Linked DNA regions of Homo sapiens: region 1 is linked to region 2. Evidence: promoter capture Hi-C in human tissues and cell types (Jung and others, 2019). All regions are on one chromosome and are shown on one strand. Each heading gives the region's core, a stretch centred on a gene start or on the middle of the fragment in contact. The rest is flanking DNA. Distances are from core to core; before and after follow the strand shown. Region 1 overlaps LIN7A (lin-7 cell polarity scaffold A). Region 2 holds the start of LIN7A (lin-7 cell polarity scaffold A).

Evidence for each region. The method cuts DNA at HindIII sites, captures the fragments that hold promoters and counts their contacts. A contact is called where the count stands out against the background at its distance.
Region 1: a contact is called between a fragment that was not itself captured here and the fragment with the promoter of LIN7A in region 2, in 1 of the 25 tissues and cell types used here (mesenchymal stem cells).

Annotation. Positions count from the first base shown.
Region 1 is chr12:80,878,777-80,883,546 of GRCh38, reverse strand. The region is part of intron 2 of LIN7A (lin-7 cell polarity scaffold A); the gene reads left to right. Among named protein-coding and RNA genes, the nearest start is that of MIR617, 49 kb to the right of the region's middle. The HindIII fragment of the contact is 4,263 bases long and covers 292-4,554 here.
Region 2 is chr12:80,935,344-80,939,906 of GRCh38, reverse strand. LIN7A (lin-7 cell polarity scaffold A) reads left to right here and starts at 1,973. Exons shown (of 6, transcript NM_004664.4): 1 at 1,973-2,266. The coding sequence starts at 2,185. MIR618 (microRNA 618) reads left to right here and starts at 4,074; the gene lies at 4,074-4,171. RefSeq lists a silencer at 2,636-2,845. The HindIII fragment of the contact is 2,607 bases long and covers 1,137-3,743 here.

The DNA of each region.
Region 1 (4,770 bases), core at 1,174-3,673, 57 kb after region 2:
GATAGGAAGAGACATGGTGGTTTCCATAAGCTGAATCGAAGAAAACACACAAGACTGGTATATTTATATTCATTATCCCACCATCAATAATTAAAATAAATTGAGCTATTGCACCCTAATTTCACAACCATATGAGAAGTAGCATTACGACACAAGTTTTTGTTCTTGATGCTTTTCAAATTAATGCCTATTAATGTCTTAATCTACTGTGTGGATGAAAACATAGAAGGAAAACTTAATCAGCTTTATGAGAGAGTCAATGCTTGGTTGGGTGATACAACTTAGATTCAGAATTACCCTAAGAAAATACATACTTGGCTCATTAGTGACAATATGAGATAAAATAAGGATAATAGGAGAAAGAGGAATTGGAGGAAGAAAGAATGGGAGCGAGTGAAGGATGAGAAGGAGAGAGGTAGGGAAGAAAAACAGAAGAAGGAAAAAGAAGAGAAAAACAGAAAGAGAGAGAAGAAAGAAGGAAAGAAGGAAGGAGGGAGGGAGGGAAGTAAAGCTGATACTGAATCATAGCTTATTGTAATATAATGGAAAAGTGCAGAAAGAATATTGGCAATGGATGGTGACAAATCTGGATTCACATCCTTGCTTGACCACATCATTTTGTAATCTAGTGCCAAGTTACTTAATTTCTGTGATCTTGGTTTTGCTTATTCTCTTTTTTAAGATAAAATAAGACAATAATAACTACATAGGATTGTCAGAAAGATTAAATAAAATGAGATAGCAGATTACATACCTTGACTAATACAGTGCCTAGCTTAAAGAGTTGACGATTAAGAAATTGTAGCTATTGTAAAAATTTTGATGGATTAAGTGATAAAAAGCTAAAATTAGAAATAATAGTTAAGAATCACCATTGTCATTGACTATTATTCTGAATGGCCTAGCTACTAAAATAAGTCAAGAAAAACATAAAATAGGTGTAAGTATTAGAATGAAAGAAAAGGCCGGGCGCGGTGGCTCACGCCTGTAATCCCAGCACTTTGGGAGGCCGAGGCGGGCGGATCACGAGGTCAGGAGATCGAGACCATCCCGGCTAAAACGGTGAAACCCCGTCTCTACTAAAAATACAAAAAATTAGCCGGGCGTAGTGGCGGGCGCCTGTAGTCCCAGCTACTTGGGAGGCTGAGGCAGGAGAATGGCGTGAACCCGGGAGGCGGAGCTTGCAGTGAGCCGAGATCCCGCCACTGCACTCCAGCCTGGGCGACAGAGCGAGACTCCGTCTCAAAAAAAAAAAAAAAGAATGAAAGAAAAATGATAGTACTGTTATTACTCACAGATGATATGATCGTATATGTAAAAATCCAAAAGAATATTTAGAGAAACCATTAGCATTGCATTTCTTTATATAATTTCACTCCTATATATTCAATAAAATATGTACCTATGTATGTAGTTCTTGATCATTCAAAAAATGCAATATTTTTAAATGGATGGCTCCAAATTTTCAGATAGATGTTAACACATTGTAGTGGTTGTAGAAAAAGGCAACCAGCATAGAAAGAGATCTGGATACCTTGTTAGATGACAAGAAGTTAAGAACTTGGTGATATTCAGCCACATAAAGAGAAAAGTAATGTGTAACATAAGATTTACCACCCAATAGTTGATGGGATAAATGGCAAGAGAATTAACCATGCCAGAACACTGGATGAAAAATGGAAGAATAACCAAGGATAACCAGATAACCAAGGATAACTAGAAATACCCAACTATTACAAATGGGCTCATTTGTAATACAGGAAACTTCCTATATAACAACAGCAGAGATTAGATGCTGTATTTCAGATCACGTTATAAAAGGGATATTTTAGTTAAAGATCATATACAGACTTTATGTTGTAGGTTAAGTAAGAGCAAACATATATATATGTGTGTGTACATATATATATATATATAACTTAGCTTTATTTTGTTTTCTTTGCTTTTTGTGCAAAAAATTGTTCATGGTAAAATATTTTTTTAATGTATTTAATGTTTTAATATTTTTATTGTTTTAAAATATTTTAATGTTTTCCTTTAAACATGGACAGAGTAGCATGTATTTTTTCACACAAAGTTACTATCCTTGCACAATGACATCTGGAATGGCATTGCATTCATCAGAATTAATGAAAATGCATCTGACATTATGTTTGTGCATATCTCTTTCTGTTCACATTAAACTTAGCTTAAGTTGGCAAATGTCAGAGAAAAGAAAGCTGATGGCTCCTACATTTCCTTTGATTTTATTTGCATTGCTAAATGTGATGGGACACAAAAGCCAGACTGTTTCTTGTGTGATAAGTTTCCTGCCAATGATAGGATGAAGTCAAGAAAGCTTATTTCTGAGCATCCTGAAAATAAATCACACAATATAGATTTTTTTCCCCTGGAGAAGAAGTTCAATTTTAAAAGGATGGAAATTTACCAAAACTTATATTTGCACTAACATGAAACTTTTGACATGTTTCCAATCAAAAGAAACCATAAATAACTGGAGAAAGCTTTATCATTTCAAGTACTCTAGAAATGCTTGAGCTGGTTGGTTGATTAGAATAAAAAAAATTAATAGCACCTCTGTTCACTTGATAGAACCTACTCTTGAACTCTGGTATTTTGCCAATATTTCAAAGCCAGTTATAGTGAAAATAACAGCTGTGGCATTCCCATTTGGCATGCAACTGAGTGAAAACTATGATTGTTTCAGTAAAACTCTGATTTTTATCTCTCACCTGAATGTCGATGTGTGTGTGTGTGTCTGTGTGTGTGTATGTGTGTGTGTGTGTGTGTGTGTGCGTTGCCTCCTCCCAACAGAGTTTATCAAGCAAAACTCCTAATGGAACAAAAATCTTGATACTGCAAGTACATATGGAGTACATATGGAGTTTCTTTATGCAAGATCCAGCGTAATTAATCTGGTGAAGACAGAGGTTCCACTTTTCATAGAGACATATTGCCCTCACCATCAGCATGCATTCGTGTGAAAGACACTGATAATTATTCTAAAAAGATGCTTTGCCTGCTCTGTTAAAATAATTTCACAGACATAGCCAGAAATCTAGAGTTTCAAAAGTTTTTATTTGGGAATGAAGCAAAATGTATTATTTTTACTATCAGAAGTTTTTTGGCTTTCCAATGAATAAGTGTTAATGCACTTGGCTGAACTTGGGTCAGAAATTTCATTTTATCTATTTTTTAAGTAAAAGAGAGCTGAATCTTAAAACAATTTGACAAGAGAGGTTTATTCATGGATGGACTTCTTTGTAGATGTTAGGTCAAAAAAAAATGAGGCTAGTCTTTCAATTTCAGATTTTCTGGTCTAGTAGGGTGGCTCTGGAAACAACTGTCATTTTGGAGGAAGAAATTACAGGTAAAATCTTGTGACCTTTCCATTGACATGAAAGTGCTGAAAGAAAGACTTTAGTGAGGGCAAGGGAGTTGAAAATGAGAAAGACATGTCAGTTTATCCATGGAGAAGATCTACAAACATCTGTAAAGACTACAAAACTCTTTTAAAGGTTATTTCTGCTTAGACTACATAAAATTGAAAGCATTCAAACATCTTCCCTTGCTGACTAAGGCTGCATTGTTGACACTAAGCTTTCCAAAAATAATTTCATTTGACTTGAGGACAAAGGGTTTCATAGAACCTGAATTCACCCTGAAGTAGCTTGGAGAAAGCTCAGGTGTCTTGATAAACGTCTGCTCTGCTCCGACTGATAGGGAATTTAATTCTGTTTGATACTGAAAGCTGTGTGAGCTGCAACTTTGAGCACATAGTGCTATTAAAACAGATGAAAAATTGTTTGGATACTAAAAATAACACCGATATTTTCCTATAAAGGAAGGCTCAGTCTAAATTTTAACTTCTTCCTTTTTTTTTTTTTTTTTTTTTTTTTTTGGGCTGCTCCATAGACACAGCAGGGCTATCCCATAGGCAAAGTGTTCCAGAGTAGCCTAAATTTTAACTTCTTACTAAGCCAAATAAAACAGCCTTCTCATTGAAAACTATTTTAAGCAGAATATATGTTTTCTTTTTTTATATGATTTGGTTAGTAATTTGCATTTATGTTTTATTTAGAAAGAGGTCATCAATTTTCACAAGAAAAATGAGTCACATAATTATTTGTAAAATGTGAAATAACTCAATGACAAATGCAAACAAATAAATAAATGATATGAACATTTACACACATGAGTGGATTTTTCTTGGGATAACTTCACAAACTTCATTAGATTTTCTAGTGTCCATGATATCTCCTCTCTATCCCACCCCCTCCTACCCCCAAATAAAGACTAATTAATAAGGTCTATAATATCAGTTGAGAAACACTGCTCCACTAGGTAGTCAGTCTCCTGTGATCCTTCCGGTTCTGTGAATCTATAGTTACATAGCAAGCAATCTATGTTTTTCTTCACATAGATTGCATCTACATGAAAGGCTGAGCATGTATGGATACTTGGAATATGTAACTGTGTGAGACTGTGTGAATGGGGTAAGAAAGACAAGTACTATGAAGATTTTTAAATTGATAAAAATAATACTACAGAATAAATGTACTTGTGAGAGGTGAAGCCAGCTGGACTTTTGGATCGTGTGGGGACTTGGAGAACTTTTCTGTCTTACAAGAGGATTGTAAAATGCACCAATCAGTGCTCTGTAGCTAGGATTGTAAAACACACCAATCAGTGCTGGGTGACTAGCTAGAGGTTTGTAAAATGCACCATTCAGCACTCTGTAAAAACTCACCAATCAGCTCTCTGTGGCTA
Region 2 (4,563 bases), core at 724-3,223:
TTCTTTTATCCTCAGTTACCGAGTGAGGTTTAATAACTTTGTGCAAAAGCTTGTAACACACTCTGGTATCATTGCGCTCATCTCAACTTCTTTCTGTTGCTTAATTCAGGGCATGTGAATAACGGTAAAAAACCAAAGTTGTTTTTGCAACCTCTGGCCACCGAGGGCACTTCCTTTTAATAGTGCTTAGAGTACTGCACAGAAGCTTATGGTTTGCTCACTGTCTCCCAAGCAAGACTGGGCAGAAAGGGGGCCATCTCATTAATCTTTGCATGGTTAGCACCTAGCACAGAGCTTACCACACGGTTCCAGGGGATGTATGCTTGTATAAATAAATTTGTATATTCTTTACTGTTTTCAAAGCACAGTCACATGTATGACTCCATTAGACCCTCATAAAACTCTGTGAGATTGCAAGGTAGAATTAGTTTCCTCATATGACAGATCTCTGTGACATTGAATGATATTATTTCCATTGTATGACAGAGGAGGAAACAGGATCAGTGAGAGATTGTGTGACTTCCGAAGAGTACATGACTAAGACTCAAATGTCAAGATCAGCATTCTTTCTTAAATACTAAATAAAAATAAACATATCGAACTACTATTTTAGGTTTGTTCTTAGGGTCTGTTAAGTCTATATATGGCCAATCATCTTTGGCTTTCCCACATTGGTGAAATGTTGTTTTTTAAAATTCAATTGTAGACTATAAAATGAAAAAGACCTTCAGAAATCCTATCTGTAATCAGAAGAAAATGGCATCAATTATATGCAAATATTTTGCTATAAAACAGTATCTGCCTTTTAGAGTTTATTGTTAGCCCAAACAATTCAGCTCTGTCACAGGAAACAAGATGGAGGCAGCTTTGTCATTTCCAATCCTGCACCCACAGTCACCCCTATTCAGCTTATAGAAGGTTTCTTTATGTTTCTTGATTTCGTAGTCAGGAAATGAATCCCTACTATGACAAGATAGTGAAAGTAGCCTTTTTATTGGGGCGAAGAGGTCACAGCCAGTATTTGAAGGCTCTCGTAATTTAATCCTGATCAACTGACTCTAAAGTCAGGTTTTTAATAACACCATCTCCCACTAGATTACAGGCTACAGGAAGTCGGAGACTAAATTGAACTCCTAAATCAAGGCGTGGCACAAGGCAATGTAACTCTTCTATCTCAATTCCTGGCATATATGTTAATCAATCGATAAGTGGCATCTCTGAACCACTGGTTAGAAATCAACATGAAAAGTGCTAGGTACATATTTTTCAAACGTAGTCATAGACAACCAAAATCAGTTTGGACATTAAGAGCAAAGTTTTTGTTGCTGGGTGGGTGAGGGGGAGTGGGGCATGTTTACAGGATGTGGTATGTAAAAAATTCGGAGAAAATCTGAACACTGTACTTGTTTCTAAGCTACATTTACTGAATTGGTAATGTATTAACAGTGGCTTGAAAAAGAAAAACTTAGCGATAGAAACTTACCTACACGTTTTTTATTTTGAAGCACTTTTAAGAGGTTTGCCTTTTTTTTTTTTTTTCTCCAGGCAATATACTCAGGTCCTAAATGAACATCTACTGATGGAACGCTGGCCTTTAGTCAGTTATCTTTATATGCCGTTATAGGTCAACATTCCGAAAAACTTCAACAGAAATTAACTGCAAATGTAATTACATCCCAAACATTTCTGATAATGGAAGCATTTTCTCTCTAAAGGGGATGGGATTATTGGATTGGCAATTTCTCTTAATCTGAGAAAACTCATCTCCCACTCCCTTCCCCATATCCCCTTTCCATCCTCTCTCTTCCCCTTATACACACACGCACCCGCATGCACACACGTATATTCTGACCATTTTATTAGAGTGGAAAGTTGAAAGGAAGCAACCCGCCAGCTACACCCACCCAGCGCTCCTGGGGGTGGAATAGCAAAGTTCTAGGGCAGAGCCTTCCCTCCCAGAGCCCGGCGATGCAGTCGCTCTCGGATACCTGCTCAGCTCCGCACCGCAACTGAAGATCTGCCGCCGCGGAACAGTTGCGTCTCCATCTGGCTACCAACCCACCCAAGCTTTCTTCTCCACCACCACCACCTTCCTTCCTTCCCCCTCCTCCCCCTCCTTTCCGTCTTCCCTCTCCACCCCCGCCCCCAATCTCCTCCTTTTTTTCTCACTACGAGCGGTTGCTGATGCTGAAGCCGAGCGTCACTTCGGCTCCCACGGCAGACATGGCGACATTGACAGTGGTCCAGCCGCTCACCCTGGACAGAGGTAAGGGAGCGGCTCGCTCGCCAGGCCACCGCGTCCCCTCTCCCCTCCTCCCTTCCCCGCCTGCCAATTCCCAACGGGACATGGGACGCGCTCAGGCAGGAGGAGAAGGGGAACGAGGACGAGCCAGGAAGGCGTTCGCGCCGAGAACAGAACACTTTCTTCCCCTTTCTCTCCCCGCTACGTTCCCGCTGCCCCTTCCCACTGTACTCGCCCCGCCGAGGGGACGCCTCCTTCTGGCTCTGGGGTCCCCGCTGCCACTCCCAGCCCCTCGCCGGGTCGTCTCCGGTCCTCTGGCTTTGTTGGAGCCGCTGCGCGGGGACGGCTATAGGCGCCAGGGGCTCGGGGTTGGAGAGGGGCAGAGAGCAAGCTCGCCCGGCCAGAGCCCAGAGGAGACCGGCGAGGGAGCCGCCTGTCAGCTTGCTTGGCGCAGGGGCCCGGGAGGAAGGAAGTTTGTCCAGGCGCCGGAGGGCGAGGGTCGGTCCAACTGCTGGAGTCCCGGCGGCCACTCGGGGGGCGGGCTGGGCGCACCCCTGGGCTGCCGGGCGCACAGTGGCGGGGCTGCAGCAGGCAGGGAGCTGCCCTCTGCCGAAAGGGCAAGGCAGAGCGCGGGGAGCCGAGCCCCAGCAGCCGAGATCGGCTCTCCGCGGCTTCGAGATCGAAAGCGGCGAGGGTCGCGTCTGCTCCCGCCGCCGGCAGCTCCCGGTCGATAGCAACTCTCGGCTTCTCCCGCGCCAGCCTCTCGTGTCCTCTCCCAGCTCGGTGCCACCGCGGCGCCCAGGCTGCGGAAGGCGCGGGGACAAAGCGCAGGTCGGGTTAAAATTCAACTTCTGACCTGCCACCCAGTGAGTCCTGCTCTCTGACTTGAACGGGGAAAGTGTTCGCTTCCTCCCCAGGACGCCCTCACAAGCTCAGGGATGGAGTCCTCCGCTGCGATCGGGGCCTCACTGGTGCACCCCTGTGGGGTTATACCTGTCCCTGAGTGTGTGGGTTTCCTTCCTGGCTCCAGCGTCCAGTGATGAAGGCGCTCGAGTCCTACGGCTCTGCAGAGGAGGACACCCTCTAGTCCCTCTCCGCAGCCGCCGGATTTAGGACCCTGGGCGGCCATTTGGAAATGGTGTACTCAGAAGAAAATGATTTAGTCCGATGTACCTCTAAAAATTTTCTTTCTAGAGGATTAAACTGAACGATGGGCAAGGCAAAAGAACATCCTGCTGAGAGTACAGTAACAAAGCCAGTGAACTCAGTTTGAGGTTTTTAATTTGGAGAGACTGTGGGTGACTTTAACGCAATCTGTTGGCGCCAGAACAGATGTTCTGTGGTGCCCATAGCAACCTTTCTTAGGGTAAGAGTTGAAAAATAAAATGTAATTGATTTTATATTAGAAAATGTTGATTTGTAAGCTGGCAAAATTAATAACAGTAGTTAAAGACCTCAGAAATCCATTGTATAATCCATGATTTTACCCACAATATCATCATCTGCACTAAGCAGGATAAATCCATTGCCGGTAAGAACCAAACAGATGGCAAGCTATCAGAAACTATGAGCTTCCCAAGTATTTATGTTTTAATGTAATGAGCTCTTATATTGTCCCATTACAAAATCACAGTCGTTAAACATCCCAAATCAAGTGACTATGTTAGGAGCAAAAACTCCAAGAAGATTGCATACCTGGGTCATTTTATATACTACCACTACTACTAATAATACAAATATTTCAATGTTGGGTTTTACCTTAGCCCTTAGATGCCTCAGTCGGTTGATGAGAGGAGGTGCTAATCGGACTAAGATTTATTTTTAAAGTTTGCTCTTGTTCACAGCCAAACTCTACTTGTCCTTCTGAGTGTAATTACGTACATGCAGTAGCTCAGGAGACAAGCAGGTTTACCCTGTGGATGAGTCTGAAAAAATTCATCAGCAGCTCATGGAAAATCTATAACCAAGAGATGATGGGTTATTGGCATCACCACTGAGCATAAAGTCAATATATATAAATATTGTTCTCCGTATCTTATTCAAATATGATTAATTACTTTCATTATTAAACTGATGAAGGAAAAGGTTCTAAAAATTTCCCTTCAAAAAAGGTGCATTTTTAAAGAGGCAACCCAGTATTACATATCTGGGTCCTAGCTGCAACTCTGATACTCACTCTGCATACATCAGCCTCTCTGGACATCAGATTCTCTCTGTGCCACATCAGGAGTTTGAATTAGATGATTCTAACACTGTGCAGCTTTAGCAGTCTATAATTCAATTAATTAGAGTTAGGACTCAGTTTTTGGTCACCTACTGGG